2 separate regions of the Homo sapiens genome follow, and region 2 is linked to region 1. The links are contacts of gene promoters, found by promoter capture Hi-C in human tissues and cell types (Jung and others, 2019). All regions are on one chromosome and are shown on one strand. The core of a region is centred on a gene start or on the middle of the fragment in contact, and the rest is flanking DNA. Distances in the headings are between cores, read along the strand shown. Region 1 holds the start of RPRD2 (regulation of nuclear pre-mRNA domain containing 2). Region 2 overlaps CTXND2 (cortexin domain containing 2).

Region 1 (2,794 bases), core at 111-2,610:
TTGAGTCTGGGGGATTGAGGCTGCTGTGCGATATGATAGTGCCACTGCACTCTAGCCTTGGCAGGGACAGAGCGAGACTGTATTTTAGAGCCTTTGCACTTGCTGTTCCTAATGCCAGCATGTTCCGCTCCCCGTCTCGCATATCTGCTTGGTTGCTTTTTTCTCAATGTTCAGATCGAGTTATTTCTTTCGAGAAGACTTCCTGGTTCACCATACCACCATTCTTATACTGGCGCGTGCGTGCCGTGCACACGTACACACACGCGCGCACACACACACACCCCTTTCTCCCTTACCCTGCTTCACCTTTTTACAGAATTTAATACTGTCTGAAATGTACTTGTTGGTGGTGTCCTGCCACTAAATCCCGGAGGGAACGGATTTTTGTCTGTTTTGCTCCCCATGATCTAAAACAGTACTTGGCACAAGAGGTTCAACAACTCGTTGAATTAATGAATAGTGGACATGAACTTGACAAAACAGGTTCCCTGCCTCAAGAGGCATGGCCGCAGTGAGGAGACGTTAAAAGAATTAAAACTGTATATGTTTAGTGGGAACACAGGAGCCTTTAAATTAGCTCAGAGGATTTACATAGATACCTGCGATAAAATGGTTCGTATAAGGTTCATATAATAGTTACGTAAGACTCTTGAAAACTGTAATGTATTATGCAATTTTAAGATTGTATCATAGCTGGCGAAAATGAGGTCACATCTTGCCATTCTTTTTTCGCCTCGAAAAATTTTATGAGGAAAATTTCCTTTCACTTCCTCATTTATTTCCTTTTCCTGTAACCTAAATGGTCAAGCGGCTGTGAATGTTATCTTCTATGGGCAGCAATAAATACGGTTTGGTGTCGGAGTCTGCGTAGTGAATGGCTCACTGGATCTGGCGCATGCGCATCTTTTGTGGTGCCGCAAGATGGCTGCCAGCCATTTTGTCGCGCGTTGCTCCTCCGAGGAGTTGGGGGCGATGGCTGCAGCCCCCTGAAGACTAACAGTGGTCTCAGTGGTGGGAATTTTCTGTCTCTGTTGTGTGAGCTGAACACACCCAAGAGAGCGGCCAAAAGCAGCAAAGGGCGGGGCAGGGGAACCCCCCCACCCGGCTAACCTTAGTTATACCAGCTCCCTCACCCATCCCTCCCAGTTTTTCCTTCCATCCCGTTACACGCTTATCTTCTGCGCAGGCGCAAAAATAATCGTAGCGCCTCCTGGGCCCTGGGGGCTTCAGAGCTCCTGCGCGCGCTTGTGGTTCTCCACTCCTGATTGGTCAGGTTGCCCCGCCATCACGCCTCCCTCTGCTTTCAAGGTTGAGAAGGAAGCAGGGGTAGGGGGGTGGGGCCAAGTGGCGCGTGCGCGATACTGTTGCTGCCCCTTTGCTGCTATTGCGTTGCAAAAAAAATCCTGACTAGGTAGCCTTGGACCTTTTCTGTGCTAGCGAGTCTAAAGGAAAGAAAGATTTCTGCAACTGAAGGGGCAGTCGGGTAGTATTACATTTAAGATATTAACGCCCGACCTGGCTCACAGGAGTGTGGGAACAGGGGCGGGGAAGGGCCTTAGCACTGAGAGCCGAAAAGTATAAAACGATTAGTTTCGGCGTCAGGCGTTTTGAAAGGCTTTGCAGGTCCTGTTTTCTGCGTAATTTTTCCGTGATTACTGACTGGTTTAAACACGACCCCTTGAACAATATTGATAAAACCTCCGAGACCCGCAGCCCCTCCTTGCAGCGTGTAGGAGCTGCCAGCGTGCCCAGCAGCTGGTGTTCCCGTCCGTACCTCCAGAAGAGCCCAGCGCGTGCACCATCCCCACCCCCTAGCTTCCCTCCCCACCTACGGCTTTCACGCACTCGCAGTGATTGTTTTGCCCGCTCCCGCCGCCGCCGCCGCCGCCGCCGCCAGAGGAGCAGCAGCGCTTGTGCAAACCGGGAAGATGGCGGCCGGCGGCGGCGGAGGCAGCAGTAAGGCCTCCTCCTCGTCGGCCTCTTCGGCAGGGGCTCTGGAGTCCTCGTTGGATCGAAAATTCCAGTCGGTAACCAACACCATGGAGTCCATTCAAGGCTTGTCGTCTTGGTGTATAGAGAACAAAAAACACCACAGTACTATCGTCTATCATTGGATGAAGTGGCTCCGGAGATGTGAGTGTTGGGGGTGACTAGGGAAGGGAAGACTGGGGAAATGGAAGGAAGTGTGGCCTGAAACGCTTGGGGTTTTCCCACGGAGCCGCAGCATTTGGTTGGGGTTGTTCACATTAAAGGTTTGACCCCAGTGGTCCCAAACCCAGACTCCATTCCTAGCCAGGATTGTCCTGAATTGCAGGAGACTCATTTCTTGGGTTTTTTAGCCATTGAATTGTTGTGACCTTGGGCCGTTGGGCCCAGATCCATGGAGATTTACGTATATTGTTTTTAATATTTCAGAGCCTTGTAAGGTGTATTGATTTTTCCGAACCTTCGCGGAAATTGTAGCGTCTGTTTATTTCTTACAGGCCTTGACGTGTTAATGATTTCTGGCTTTCCTGATGGTAGGCGAGCTGTGGTTTTAAGCAGTAGTAAATCCAGTGATGTTTAATGAGGAGTGCCTTGTCTGGATGAATGTATCTAAAACTTGTGATGTGTAGTAAGGAGAGCCTTACCTGGATGAATGTTAAGAAGCAGCATGAGCTCTACATAGATCTGAGGCACCACCGGGTTTTCCCTGTACCTGTGTTTGCTGCAATAAAATACAGGTTTCTTGGATACTGACCAGAAACAACTGCGATACAGTAGTCAGTATCATCGTTAATACCTTCAAATATAA
Region 2 (2,794 bases), core at 157-2,656, 540 kb after region 1:
CAAGATTGTGCTACTGCACTCCAGCACTCCAGCCTGGGCGACAGAGTGAGATTCCATCTAAAAAAAAAAAAATAAATTCAATGGGGAAATAATAGTCTTTTTAATAAATAATGCTAGAGGCTGAGCACAGTGGCTCACTCCTGTAATCCCAGGACTTTGGGAGGCCGAGGCAGGCGGATTACCTGAGATCAGGAGTTCAAGATTAGCCTGGCCAACATGGTGAAACTCCGTCTCTACTAAAAATACAAAAATTTGGCTGGGCGCCGTGGCTCACGCCTGTAATCCCAGCACTTTGGGGGGCAGAGGCGGGCAGATCACAAGGTCAGGATATTGAGACCATCCTGGATAACACAGTGAAACCCCGTCTCTACTAAAAATATTTTTAAAAAACATTAGCCAGGCGTGGTGGTGGGTGCCTGTAGTCCCAGCTACTCGGGAGGCTGAAGCAGGAGAATGGCATGAACCCGGGAGGCGGAGCTTGCAGTGAGCTGAGATTGGGCCACTGCACTCAAGCCTGGGCAACAGAGAGAGACTGCCTCAAAAAAAAAAAAAAATTGCTGGGCATGGTGGCACACGCCTGTAATCTCAGCTACTTGGGAGGCTAAGGCAGGAGAATTGCTTGAGCCCAGGAGACAGAGGTTGCAGTAAACCAAGATCGTGCCACTGCATTCCAGCCTGGCCGACGGAAATGAATGAGATTCATCACCTATAGGAGGTAGGTAGGAATGGGTGGCAAGGATGAGATGTGGGTGAAATGGAATGGAAAGAATGGTCGGGGAGGGGTGATACTTCTTTGAGTGTAATTTTTGTATAGTTCTGGTAACTATGTTACTATTTCACATACTCAAAAAATAAATGCAATAATAGTAGGGGAAAAAACTCTTAAAGTGGAATATAAACAAGACAAAATGACAAAAAAGCAGACCACTATGTCCCATAAACTGCAGGGAACATATATCAAGCTTGAAGGGAAAGTAGTCACCTTTGGTATTTTCCCTCTGTACACCTTTCTCCTACAGAGTACAGAGGGAAAATACCAACATTCCAGCAACTTTCCCCAAGAAAACCTATTGCCTCTTTACTCTCAACCCTTTTTATCCCCTCAAGGTGAATACTGAACTAAATATTTCAAAAATTGTCTAGCTACTTGCTCTGCAATGCCTGGTTATCAGATCCCTCTTTGGAACATAGGGCTCCTGCTATCTATTGTTTTATTTTGGCCTAAATTTATAGCACAGCTGTAATTGAAACAGAAATAGTCTCCTTTTAATAACCTGATGCGTCTGTTCTGCCAATCCCTATGTTTTGTTTTGAAAATCTGATCATTCTGTAACAACAACATATTTTATTAAAAATCACCCTTCTGTTAAGTGATGGGGCTTTTTCTTCTCTTTTTATTGAGGGGTGGGGGTTGCGTATATAATTTTATTATAAGTACTTTTGTGCATGATTTGTCCCTCCCGCTTCCCACCCCTGCAGTCCTCTTAAGAGAGGCCAACAGCCTTTCCCTGCCTTGGATTCTGAAGTGTTCCTGTCTGTCTTAACCTAGCCCTGGCCAGACGTTCTCTTTGATTTTTAACTTTTTTTTAATTAAAAGATACCAGTATGAGATGAAAAAATAAAATAAAATTAAAAATAAAAATCACCCTTCTGGCCAGACATGGTGGCTCACGCCTGTAATCCCAGCACTTTGGGAGGCTGAGGCAGGTGGATCAGGAGGTCAGGAGTTCAAGACCAGCCTGGCCAACATAGTGACACCCCGTCGCTACTAAAAATACAAAAAATTTGCTGGAATGGTGGTGGGCGCCTGTAATCCCAGCTGCTCGGGAGGCTGAGGCAGGAGAATCGCTTGAACCTGGGAGGCAGAGGTTGCAGTGAGCAGAGATTGCGCCATTTTTGCCCTCCAGCCTGAGCGACAGTGTGAAACTCCGTCTCAAAAAAAAAAAAAAATTGCCTTTATGGAGAGAGTGGGATGTCCGGCTTCAGAGTGGTAACCTACGTTGCACCAGTGATGAAAAAGAGAATTAAATATGGGTGATGTTGAGAAAGGCAAGAAGATTTTTGTTCAGAAGTGTGCCCAGTGTCACACCGTGGAAAAGGGAGGCAAGCACAAGACTGGGCCTAATCTCCATGGTCTCTTCAGTCAGAAGACAGGTCAGGCTGTTGGATTCTCTTACACAGATGCCAATAAGAACAAAGGCATCATCTGGGGAGAGGATACGCTGATGGAGTATTTGGAAAATCCCAAGAAGTACATCCCTGGAACAAAAATGATCTTTGCCGGCATTAAAAAGAAGGCAGAAAAGGCCGACTTGACAGCTTATCTCAAAAAAGCTACTAATGAGTAATAATTGGCCACTGCCTTATTTATTACAAAACAAATGTCTCATGAATTTTTCATGTGTACCATACTTTAACAGAGCTTATACACCAGAATTCAGATCATGAATGACTGACAGAATATTTTGTCGGACAGTCCTGATTTAAAACTAAGACTGGCTTGTGGTTAAATGAATATGTTCAGTTTTTGAATTTTAATAGTAATTCCAATTCAGTAAATGCTATCACTGTTTACCCCTTCTAAAGATATGATTAGACTTTGTTAGTAATGTTAAACTTTTCACAAAGATGGTGAGTACCATCTTCAAACTTACTGGAGATTGGTTTTATATTTAGATTTATATAACTGGTTATGTGAATATATTTGAATACTGGAGAAATTCCTTCACTGTCTCAGAACCAAGCAAGATTCACCTGTGTTTTGTGTCCATAAAGGCAAGGGTTGAAGATAAAT

Evidence for each region. Contacts are between HindIII fragments. The study calls those that stand out against the background at their distance.
Region 2: a fragment that was not itself captured here is called in contact with the fragment with the promoter of RPRD2 in region 1 in 1 of the 25 tissues and cell types used here (small bowel).

What each region holds. Positions count from the first base shown.
Region 1 is chr1:150,362,787-150,365,580 of GRCh38, forward strand. It overlaps RPRD2 (regulation of nuclear pre-mRNA domain containing 2), which reads left to right and starts at 1,361. Exons shown (of 11, transcript NM_015203.5): 1 at 1,361-2,133. The coding sequence starts at 1,929. RefSeq lists enhancers at 1-598, 579-648, 809-1,118, 1,869-2,148, 2,632-2,794. The HindIII fragment of the contact is 19,991 bases long and covers 1-2,794 here.
Region 2 is chr1:150,901,866-150,904,659 of GRCh38, forward strand. The region is part of intron 1 of CTXND2 (cortexin domain containing 2); the gene reads left to right. The region is part of intron 2 of LOC107985204 (a long non-coding RNA gene); the gene reads right to left. It also overlaps the pseudogene CYCSP51. Among named protein-coding and RNA genes, the nearest start is that of CTXND2, 16 kb to the left of the region's middle. The HindIII fragment of the contact is 5,221 bases long and covers 1-2,794 here.